Linked DNA regions of Homo sapiens: region 2 is linked to region 1. The links are contacts of gene promoters, found by promoter capture Hi-C in human tissues and cell types (Jung and others, 2019). All regions are on one chromosome and are shown on one strand. The core of a region is centred on a gene start or on the middle of the fragment in contact, and the rest is flanking DNA. Distances in the headings are between cores, read along the strand shown. Region 1 holds the start of SPC24 (SPC24 component of NDC80 kinetochore complex). Region 2 has its middle 12 kb from the start of SLC44A2.

The links. The method cuts DNA at HindIII sites, captures the fragments that hold promoters and counts their contacts. A contact is called where the count stands out against the background at its distance.
Region 2: a contact is called between a fragment that was not itself captured here and the fragment with the promoter of SPC24 in region 1, in 1 of the 25 tissues and cell types used here (heart left ventricle).

What each region holds. Positions count from the first base shown.
Region 1 is chr19:11,153,037-11,159,015 of GRCh38, forward strand. SPC24 (SPC24 component of NDC80 kinetochore complex) reads right to left here and starts at 2,746. Exons shown (of 5, transcript NM_182513.4): 1 at 2,581-2,746. The coding sequence starts at 2,740. RefSeq lists a silencer at 2,703-2,862. The HindIII fragment of the contact is 16,265 bases long and covers 1,688-5,979 here.
Region 2 is chr19:10,610,321-10,616,299 of GRCh38, forward strand. It overlaps a transcript of SLC44A2 not described here. Among named protein-coding and RNA genes, the nearest start is that of SLC44A2, 12 kb to the right of the region's middle. The HindIII fragment of the contact is 8,359 bases long and covers 1-5,979 here.

The DNA of each region.
Region 1 (5,979 bases), core at 1,496-3,995:
GCACCTGAAACCCCTGGCACTGCAGCTGTCAGGGAGAACCGTATGGCGGTTCCTCAGAAATCAAACTTTGAATTACCATTTGATCTGCTTCTGGCTGAATACAAAAAAGAACTGAAAATAGAGTCTTGGCTGGGCGTGGTGGCTCACGCCTGTAATCCCAGCACTTTGGGAGGTCGGGGCAGGTGGATCACGAGGTCAGGAGATCGAGACCATCCTGGCTAACACGGTGAAACTCTGTCTCTACCAAAAAAAATACAAAAAAAAAATTAGCCGGGCGTGGTGGCGGGTGCCTGTAGTCCCAGCTACTCGGGAGGCTGAGGCAGAATGGTGTGAACCCGGGAGACGGAGCTCGCAGTGAGCCAAGATCACGCCACTGCACTCCAGCCTGGGTGACAGAGCGAGACTCCATATCAAAAAAATAAAAAAAAGAAAATAGAGTCTTGGGCTGGGCGCAGTGGCTCATGCCTATATTCCCAGCACTTTGGGAGACCGAGGCGGGCGGATCACGAGGTCAAGAGTTTGAGACCAGCCTGGCCAACATGGTGAAACCCCATCTTTACTAAGAATACAAAAATTAGCTGGGCATGTTGGCACGTGCCTGTAATCCCAGCTACTTGGCAGGCTGAGGCAGGAGAATTGCTTGAACCCAGGAGGCATAGGTCGCAGTGAGCAGAGATCACGCTGCTGTACTCCAGCCTGAGCAGCGGAGTAAGACTGTCCTGGGAAAAAAAAAAAAAAGAAGAAAATATGGCTGGGCACGGTGGCTCATGCCTGTAATCCCAGCACTTTGGGAGTCCGAGACGTGTGGATCATGAGGTCAGGAGATCGAGACCATCCTGGCTAACACGGTGAAACCCCGTCTCTACTAAAAAAATATATATAAAAATATTAGCCGGGCGTGGTGGCGGGCACCTGTAGTCCCAGCTACTCGGGAGGCTGAGGCAGGAGAATGGCGTGAACCCAGGAGACGCAGCTTGCAGTGAGCCAAGATTGCGCCACTGCACTCCAGCCTGGGTGACAGAGCAAGACTCCGTCTCAAGGAAAAAAAAAATACAGTCTTGAAGAGATATTTGGGCACCCGTGTTCATAGCAGCGTTATTCAACACAGCCAAAAGGTGGATACAACCCAAGTGCCCATGGATGGATGAATGAATAAACACAATGCGGTCCATCCTTCTATATCATGAAATATGACTCAGCTTTAAAATGGACGGAAATTCTGGCCAGGCGTAGTGGCTCACCCCTGTCATCCCAGCACTTTGGGAGGCCGAGGTGGGCGATCACTTGAGGCTGGGAGTTTAAGACCAGCCTAGCCAACATGGTGAAACCCCATCTCTACTAAAAATACAAACATTAGCTGGGCATGGTGGCGCATAAGTGTGTTCTCAGCTACTTGGGAGGCTGAGGTGGGAGGATCACTTAAGTCTGGGAGGCAGAGGTTGCAGTGAGCCAAGATCACACCACTGCATTCAAGCCAGGGTAATGGAGCGAGGCTCTGTCTCACAGTAAGTACACAAAATGAAAGGAAATTCTGATACAGGCTATGACATGGATGAACCTGGAGGACATTATGCTCCATGAAATAAGCCAGACACAAAAGGGTAGATATTGTATGATTCCACTAGGAAGGGTAGATATTGTACAATTCCTCGTAAGGTTCCTAGAGGAGTCAAATTTGAGACAGAAAGTAGAACCCTGGTGGGTGCCAGGGTCTGAGAAGGGGATGGGGAGTGAGTGTTTCATGGGGACAGAGCTTCAGTTTGGAAAGATGAGAAAGTTCTGGAGATGGATGATGGTGCTGATGGTTGCACAGCAGTGTGAATGTGCTTAAGGCCACTGAACTGTGCAGTTACAGATAGTGAAGATGGGCCGGACACAGTGGCTCACGTCTGCAGTCCCAGTACTTTGGGAGGCTGAGGCAGGCAGATTACCTGAGGTCAGGAGTTTGAGACCAGCCTGGCCAACGTGGTGACCCCCCGTCTCTACCAAAAATACAAAAATTAGCCGAGTGCGGTGGCAAGCGCCTGTAATCCCAGCTACTCAGGAGGCTGAGGCAGGAGAATAGCTTGAACCCGGGAGGTGGAGGTTGCGGTGAGCCCAGGGCCTGGCAGCAGCAGATGCTCCATAAAACATCTGAATGCCTTCAGGAAGAAGGGATGGGCTATTGTCACAACCATTTGACAAGGAAGGAAGCTGAGGCACAGAGAATTTAAGAAACTCACCTCAAGTCTCACAGCGGACATGGGGATGGGTGCTAGGATTCAAACCCGGAGCTTTGACTCCTGAGCCCCAGTTCAAACCCTGAGACCCCCAGCTCCTGCTCACGGAGAGCTCAGAAGGGGCCAACCCCTCCAGACTCCTATATTTACCACTAAACCCCTGGGGGGTGGGGGATGGTTGCTGTCATAAAGCCGATTTCTCAGATGGTGAAACTAAGGCTCAGAGGGGGCCGTCCCAGGGGGCATAGGGCAGGAGATGGGAGAGTCCAGGAGAGAAGGGGTTTTGAGGTGGGCCTGGTCGCCCCCTCCCAGCACCCGGGCCCCTTCCCCCGTGGGCCCGCGACCACGCTCCGACCCTCACCTCGCAGCTGCTTCTCGGCACCGTCTTGCGTTTCCAGCAGCCGCTCCACCACCTGCTCGTGGCGCCCCAGCAGCCGTCGCTGCTGCGCCTCCGCGCGGTTGGCGCCCAGCAGGCTGAGCAGCCCCTGGCTCACCTCCTCTATGTCGCGGAAGGCGGCCATGACTACGCCAGGCTCCAACCCGCGCAAATTTGACTGTCCGCGGGGCCCGCCCTCTTCCAGAAGAGGTTGCTTTCCATTGGATTTTTTGATACGTCAGTCATAAGCAATGGCCAATAGGCATGGGGAACAGGATCTTAGACTGGGCTAAGCCGCCTTTGGTCTGGCCTGGTGCGCCTGCGACCACTCCTCCGTCAGTCATCGGTGATGACCAATCGGCGCAGGAAGGGGGAGGCTCCGTTATCCTTCCCGATGCGCCTGCGCGGGAGAGAAAGCGGCTGTTTATTTCTCCATAGGTCGAGCGCTTGCTCTGTGCAGGGTGGGGTTCTAACGGCAAAGCAGCGAGCAGCTTCTCCTGGAACTTACATCCTACAGTGTGTGCGTGGGATACACAATAAGCATAGAGAATAAGTAGATTCTATGAGAGGCTGCATAGCAAAATGGCGTCTGCAGCCAGATTTACTGGGTTCGAATCCCAGCGTTGCCACTTACTAGCTGTGTTACCCTGGACAGACTTCACCTCTCTGTGCGGTACTTTCCTCCTTAGTAAAATGAGGGTCATACTAGTGCCTGTGTCAGCGTTGGCGTGAGAATTCTTCTTATTACTTTTTTTTTAGAGACAAGGTATTGCTCTGTCACCCAGGCTGAAGTGCAGTGCCACAATCATAGCTCATTGCAACTTCGACCTCCTGGCCTCCAGCAATCCTCCTGCCTCCGCCTCCCAAAGTGCTGGGATTACAGGCGTGAGCCACCGAGCCCAGCCTGGCGTGATAGTGTCTCCTATTCAGTAGGTGCTATATAGTTGTTTAATGAAACATACATAGAATCCTAGCATGTAGCTGGGTGCAGTGGCTCACGCCTGTAAGTCTGAGCTCTTTGGAAGGCTAAGACAGGAGGATCGCTTGAGCCCTGGAGTTTGAGACTAGCCTGTCTCAAAACAAAACAAAACAAAGAAAAGATCAGTGCTGACTCTAAGGTGCTGGTTCCATGCTAGACACTGGTATTTCTGCAAGAAACAAGATGTTAAGATGGCATCTTTTTTTCTTTCTCTCTCTTTTTTTTTAAGACAGAGTCTCACTCTGTTGCCCAGGCTGGAGTGCAAGGCATTCCAGCCTGCTTCCTGGGTTCAAGGCATTCTCCTGCATCAGCCTCCCGAGTAGCTGGGATTACAGGTGCCCGCCACCGCACCCAGCTGATTTTTTGTATTTTTAGTAGAAACGGGGTTTCATTATGTTGGCCAGGTTGGTCTTGAACTCCTGACCTCGTGATCTGCCTGCCTCAGGCTCCCAAAGTGCTGGGATTATAGGCGTGAGCCACCGCGCCTGGCGTGGCAACATTTTTATGTGTGCTACCACCTAAAGAACATCTCATTGCTTTCCTATGATTTTTTTTTCTTTTCTTTTCTTTTCTTTTTTTTTTTTCTTGAGACAGAGTTTCGCTGTTGTTGCCCAGGCTGGAGTGCAATGGCGCGATCTCAGCTCACTGCAACCACCACCTCCCAGGTTCAAGTGATTCTCCTGCCTCAGCCTCCCGAGTAGCTGGGATTACAGGCATGCGTCACCATGCCCAGCTAATTTTGTATTTTTAGTAGAGACGGGGTTTCTCCATGTTGGTCAGGCTGGTCTTGAACTCCCGACCTCAGGTGATCCACCTGCCTCGGCCTCCCAAAGTGCTGGGATTACAGGCGTAAGCCACTGTGCCCGGCCTTCTTTTCTTCCTTCTTTTTTTTTTTTTTTTTTGAGATGGGGTCTTGTTCTGTCCCCCAGGCTGAAGTGCAGTGGCTCAGGTGATCCTTTCATTTCAACCTTCCAAGTAGCCGGGACTACAGGTGTGTGTCACCCTTTGGTGCCTGAGAGCATGGCTTCTTGAACCAGCTGTGTAATGTTGGCATAGACCTCACTTCTTTGTGCCTAAAGGCAGTGAATAACAATTAGGCAGAGTGAAATCAAGAGGGGAAAAGACTTCAGGTTCACTTTCTGATGCTGCAGCTTACCTGTGACCTTGGCAGGTTCCTAACCTTTCTAAGCCATAGTGGCTAAAGATAGCCCTTTCTTATTAGCTGCCAGGAGGTGTCCCAGAGATAAGCCAGGCAAGATTGTGCAACTCGAGCCTGATAGATCTAAAGGCTCCTGTGGAAAAATGCCACCCGCCCACCTCCCTTCCAAAAAAGCAAAGCGAGAACCGCTTCCCAGCCATTAGGATGGCTACTGTCCAAAACCAACCAACCAGCCAAGCAACCTGGAAAATAACAAGTGTTGACCAAGATGTAGAGAAATTGGAATGCTGTGTACCCTTGCTGAGAATGTAAAATGGTGCAGCTGCTGCGGGAAACAGTATGGCAGTTCCTCAAAAAATTAAAAATAGTATTACCATATCAGCAATTCCACTTCTGGGTATAGCCCCAAAAGAATTGAAAGCAGGTTGTTGGGCCGGGCGCAGTGGCTCATGCCTGTAATCCCAGCACTTTGGGAGGCCGGGGCGGGCGGATCACCTGAGGTCGGGAGTTCGAGACCAGCCTGACCAACATGGACAAACCCCGTCTCTACTAAAAATACAAAATTAGCCAGGCGTGGTGGCGCATGCCTGTAATCCCAGCTACTAGGGAGGCTGAGGCAGGAGAATCGCTTGAACATGGGAGGCGGAGGTTGCGGTGAGCTGAGATCACGCCATTGCACTCCAGCCTGGGCAACAAAAGGGAAACTCCGTCTCAAAAAAAAAAAAGAAAAAAAAAAGAAAGAAAGAAAGAGAAAGAAAGCAAGTCATAGAGCAGATATTTGCAAGTCTATGTTCATAGCACCCATTATAGCGAAAGGGTGGAAACAGCACAAGTGTCCTTAGATAGAAGAATTAATAAAACGTGGTTCATCTCTACAACACAATTGTTTTTTTTTGGTTCATCTGTACAACGCAATTTTTTTTTTTTTGAGCCACCATGCCCGGACACAATTTTTTTTTCTTTTTCCTTTTTTTTTTTATGAGACAGGATCTCTCTGCCAGGCTGGAGTGCAGAGACGCAATCATGGCTCACTCAACCTCCTGGGCTCAAGCAATCCTCCAACTTTAGCCTCCCAAGTAGCTGGGACTACAGGCACATGCCACTACACCCAGCTAATTATTTTTTTTTTCCTAGAGACAGGGGTCTCATTGTATTGCCTAGGCTGGTCTCCAACTCCTGGGCTCAAATGATCCTCTTGCCTCAGCCTCCCAAAATGCTGGCATTACAGGTATGAGTCACCGTGTCT
Region 2 (5,979 bases), core at 1,593-4,092, 540 kb before region 1:
TTTTCTTTTCCTTTTTTTTTTTTTTTTTTGAGACTGAGTCTCACTCAGTCACCCAGGCTGGAGTGCAGTGACGTGATCTCGGCTCACTGCAAGCTCCGCCTCCCGGGTTCACGCCATTCTCCTGCCTCAGCCTCCCGAGTAGCTGGGATTACAGGCGCCCGCCACCATGCCCGGCTGATTTTTTTGTATTTTTTTAGTAGAAACGGGGTTTCACTGTGTTAGCCAGATGGTCTTGATCTCCTGACCTCGTGATCTGCCCGCCTCGGCCTCCCAAAGTGCTGGGATTACAGTCGTGAGCCACCGCGCCTGGCTTTTTTTTTTTTTTTTTTTTTTTTTGAGATGGAGTTTCACTCTTGTTGCCCAGGCTGGAGTGCAATGGCGTGATCTTGGCTCACTGCAACCTTTGCCTCCCGGGTTCAAGTGATTCTCTGGCCTCAGCCTCCCGAGTAGCTGGGATTACAGGCATGTGCCACCATGCCTGGCTCATTTTTGTATTTTTAGTAGAGACGGGGTTTCACCATGTTGGCCAGGCTGGTCTGGAACTCCTGACCTCAAGTGATCCGCTCGCCTCGGCCTCCCAAAGTGCTGGGATTACAGTTGTGAGCCACCGCGCCCCGCCAAGACTTTTCTTTTGCCATTTCCCAATCGATCCCCAAGGTGAACATGATATTTATTTATTTATTTTTAATTTAAAAAAAAATTTTTTTTGAGAGGGAGTCTTATGATGTTCCCCAGGCTGGTTGAATTCCCCGGCTGAAGCGATCCTTCCCCTTCAACCTCCTAAGTAGGGGACTATAGGCATGTGCCTCTGTGCCGGGCTAGAGAGCATTATTTTAAAATATTATTTTAGGCTGCGTGCAGTGCCTCACGCCTGTAATCCCAGCACTTTGTGAGGCCCAGGCGGGTAGGTCACTTGAGGTCAGGAGTTCGAGACCAGCCTGACCAAGATGGTGAAACCCCATCTCTGCTAACACTACAAAATTTAGCCAGGCGTGGTGGCAGGTACCTGTAATCTCAGCTACTCAGGGGGCTGAGGCAGGAGAATTGCTTGAACCTGGGCAGCAGAGGTTGCAGTTAGCCAAGATTGCGCCACTGCACTCCAGCCTGGGCAAGAGAGTGAGACACTATTTCAAAAAATAATAAATAAATAAATAAACAAACAAGAGACCCGGTGCAGTGGTTCACTCCTGTAATCCCAGCTGTTTGTGAGGCCAAGGTGGGTGGATCGTGGTTCACTCCTATAATCCCAGCTGTTTGTGAGGCCAAGGTGGGTGGATCGCTTGAGTCCAGGAGTTTGAGACTAGCCTGGGCAACATTGCAAAACCCCTTCTTCCCAAAAATATGCAAAAAAATTAGCTGGTCATGGTGGCTTATGCCTGTGGTCCGAGCCACTCTGGAGGGTGAGGTGGGAGGATTGCTTGAGCCTAGGAGGCAGAGGTTGCAGTGAGCCGACATTGTGCCACTGCACTCCAACCTAGGTAACAGAATGAGACCCCATCTCAAATATACAAGTAAACAAATAAACTCTTACATAATAAAATTAATAAATTCCCTCTGTTCTGGCAGGGGGACTAAAAGCTAATTATAAGTAAGTCCTCAAGTCCATGGAAGATTTTAGCTTTCCATGTGAAAGAATCTTCTACAAATCTTTGGCTAGCTGTTTTCACCTCAGAGGTAGCTCAGCCAAGAAGTCTCCTTCCAGATTGTGACCTATTAATTTCTGTGTGTGTGTGGCATCTGGATCTTTTTAAAGCTTCTTAGGCTGAGCCGGGTGTGGTGGCTCACTCCTATAATCCCAGCACTTTGGGATGCCAGGGCGGAAGGATCACTTGAGCCCAGGAATTTTATACCAGCCTGGGCAACATAGTGAGACCCTGTTTCTGCAAAACAAAAAATTAAAAATTAGCGGGGCGTGGTGGTGCATGCCTGTGGTCCCATCCACTAGGGAGTCTGAGGCGGGAGGATCACTTGAGCCCAGGAGGTCAAGGCTGCAGTGAGCTATGATTGCGCCCCTGCACTTCATCCTGGGCAAAAAAGGAGACCCTGTCTCAAAAAATAAAAAATAAAAAAAGGTTAAATGTTTCTAGAAGCAAATCTCTGGTTTGGTGCCTAACATAGTCCAGCATACAGTAGGCGCTCTATCTTTTGCCCTTAACCCTTCTGAGCCTCCCCACCCAGATGCTGTCCTCAAACCCTTTGTCAAAAGAGGTGTCTGGGCAGCTGGCGATGCTCATTCCCCAGGCACAGACTTCTGGGAAGGCAGAGGCCAGTGGCTGGCTGTACGGGTGAGGCCTTGGGCCGCTGCAGCCCTTGGGGACTTGGCCAGTGTCCGGAAGCTGTGGGGGCTGGGTGGCATTTGATGTCCTGGCACCAGCACTGTGACTGGGCAGGCTGTGGCAGTTCTCTTATCGCCCACGCCCACTGCACTTGGGTGGGTCAGCCGTCACAGCCAGCAAGGCTGGCACCCGAAGGCTGCCTCTCCCAATCCTGGCCTTGTCCAACAGCTCAATTTTCCCAATTTTTCTTCCACACCATTGCCGCAACGTTATCTCTGCTTCTCCCAGTACCTGCCAAGGAAAAGGCCTGGGTTGGCTCCAGCAGGGCGTTGGTTTGACTCCTGGCTGTGCTCCTCACCAGCTGTGTGGCCCGAGCAAGCAACCTCAGTGTGCCCGTCGTGAAATGGGATCACACTAATGGTTAGTGGGGATTGGAGAAGTTTTTGTTTTGTTATTTTTATTTGTTTGGTTTTGGTTTTTTAGAGACAGTGTTTTCTGTCATCCAGGCTGGAGTGCAGTGGCGTGATCACAGCTCACTGCAGCCTCTGCCTCCCGGGCTCAAGCGATTCTCCCACCTCAGCCTCCTGAGTAGCTGGGACCACAGGCATGCACCACCACACCCAGATAATATAGTTATTTTTTACTTTTTATTTTCTTTCTTTTTTTTTTTTGAGATGGAGTCTTGCTCTGTCACCCAGGCTAGAGTGCAGTGGCGCAATCTTGGCTTGCCACAACCTCTGCCTCCTGGGTTCAAGTGATTCTCCTGCCTCAGCCTCCCGAGTAGCTGGGACTACAGGCGCCCACCACTATGCCCGGCTAATTTTTTGTATTTTTAGTAGACATGGGGTTTCACCACGTTGGACAGGCTGGTCTCAAACTCCTGACCTCAAGTAATCTGCCTGCCTTGACTTCCCAAAGTGCTGGGATTACAGGTGTAAGCCACTGCGCCTGGCCAAGTTGAAGACTTTGGCTGGGTGTAGTGGCTCATGCCTGTAGTTCAAGCACTTTGGGAGGCTAAGGCAGGAGGACTGCTTGAACCCAGGACTTTGAGACCAGCCTGGGCAACATAGTGAGACCCCGTCTCTTTAAGAAAAATGGAAGAGGGTGGTAGCAGAGTCAGAGGAGGACATGGAACGACGGAAGCGAGGTGGGTTTGATGTGATTGCTGTCTTTAAAAATGGAAGAAGTGGCCAGGAGCCAAGGAATGTGGGCGGCCTCTAGAAGGTGAAACAGACAAGGAAACAGATTTTCCCCTAAAATCTCCGAAAGAAACAGCCCTGCCTACACATCGATTGTAGCCCAGTGAGATGCATTTTGTGCTTCTGTCCTCCTGAGCTGTGAGATAATAAATTTGTGGTTTTTATTTATTATTATTATTATTATTTTTGAGACGAGTTTTGCTCTTGTTGCCCAGGCTGGAGTGCAGTGATGCGATCTTGGCTCACTGCAACCTCTGCTTCCTGGTTTCAAGCAATTCTACTGCCTCAGCCTCCTGAGTAGCTGGAATTACAGGTGCACACCACCACGCCCAGCTAATTTTTTGTATTTTTAGTAGAGATGGGGTTTCACCACGTTGGCCACGCTGGTCTGAAGCTCCTGACCTCAGGTGATCCACCTGCCTCGGCCTCCCAAAGTGCAGGGATTACAGGCATGAGCCACCGCACCCGTCCATAAATTTGTGTTTTTTTAAGCCACCAAGGCATTGGTGTCTTGTTACAGCAACGAAAGGAAATAATGCATTTGACCCTCAAACCACATGGGTGTGAGGGGCACCAACCCCCTGTGAAATTAGAAATCTGTGTATGCCTTAAGTTTTTGTAGAGACAGGGTTGTGATCTGTTGATCAGGCTGGTCTCCAACTCCTGGCCTCAAGAGATCCTCCCACCTCAGCCTCCCAAAATGCTGGGATTGCAGGCATGAGTCACCATGCCCGGCCTGCATATAACTGCATATAAGTCCCCCAAAACTTAATTAGTGATAGCCTACTGTTGACTCTTAGCCTTACGGACAACATATCAACATACACATATTGTGTCTCTGTATTATATATATCGTATTCTTACAATAAAGTAAGCTGAAGAAAAGAAAATGTGGCTGGGCGCGGTGGCTCACGCCGATAATCCCAGCACTTTGGGAGGCTGAGGCGGGCGGATCACCCGAGGTCAGGAGTTTGAGACCAACCTGGCCAACATGGTGAAACCACGTCTCTATTAAAAATACAAAAATTAGCCGGACATGGTGGTGCGTGCCTGTAATCCCAGGTACTTGGGAGGCTGAGGCAGGAGAATCTCTTGAACCCGGGAGGTAGAGGTCACAGTGAGCCAAGATTGCGCCACTGCACTCCAGCCTGGGTGACAGAATGAGACTCCGTCTCAAAAAAAAAAAAAAAAAAGAAGAAGAAAAGAAAAGAAAATGTTATTAAGTTGGTGCAAAAGTAATTGCGTTTTTTTTTTTTGCCATTCCTTTTAAGGGAAAAAATATTAAAATGTAAGGAAAAGAAAATACATTTATTATTTATTAAGTGGAAGTGGATCATCAAAAAGGTTTTCAGAGGCTGGGCGTGGTGGCTCACACCTGTAATCATAGCACTTTGGGAGGCCAAGGCAGGTGGATCATTTGAGGTCAGGACTTCAAGACAAGCCTGGCCAACATGGTGAAAATCCTGTCTCTACCAAAAATAAAAAAAAAAATTAGGGGCCAGGTGCAGTGGCTCATGCCTGTAATCCCAGCACTTTGGGAGGCCAAGGTGGGAGGATCACTTGAGGTCAGGAGTTTGAGACCAGCCTGGCCAACATGGTGAAACCCCATTTCTACTAAAAATACAAAAATTAGCCAGGCATGGTGGCTCACACCTGAAGTCCCCGCTACTCGGGAGGCTGAGGCACAAGAGTCGCTTAAACCCGGGAGGCGGAAGTTGCCGTGAGCCGAGATCACACCAGTGCGCTCCAGCCTGGGCAACAGAGGGAGACTCCGTCTCAAAAAAAAAAAAAATGGTCTTCACATTGAGTGAGCTGAGGAGGAAGAGGAAGAGGAAGGGGAGGGGTTGGTCTTGCTGTCTCAGGGGTAACAGAGGCAGAAGAAAAATTGTGTTTAAGGGGAACCATGAAGCTCAAACCTGTGTTGTTGGAAGGTTAACTGTCCAAACATTGACTTGGGAGCTGGACAGCTTGGGTCTGCTGATTGAAATCTTTCACACCATGGGCACCTTCTTTCTCTCTAGGCCTCAGTTGATCTGTCTGTCAAATGGGGATAATGATAGGAGGTGCTGTAAAGATGAAATGAGGCGGGCTGGACATGGTGGCTCACACCTGTGATCCCAGCACTTTGGGCGGCCAAAGCGGGATTGCCTGAGCCAAGGATTTAGAGACCAGCCTGGGCAACATAGCGAAACCCTGTCTCTACCAAAAATACAAAAATTAGCCGGGCATGGTGACATGTGCCAGCTGAGGTGGAAGATCACTTGAGCCCTGGAGGTCGTGGCTGCAGTGAGCCAAGATGGTGCCACTGCTTTCCAGCCTGGGTGACAGTGAGACCCTGTCTCCAAAGAAAAAAAAAAAAAAGGATGAAATGAGGTGAACCATGTAACATTTTATTATTATGTTTATTTATTTATTGAAACAGAGTGAAACTGTGTTCAATATACACAGTGAGAAAGACAGGGTCTCATTCTGTTTCCCAGGCTGGAGTGCAGTGGGGCAATCTG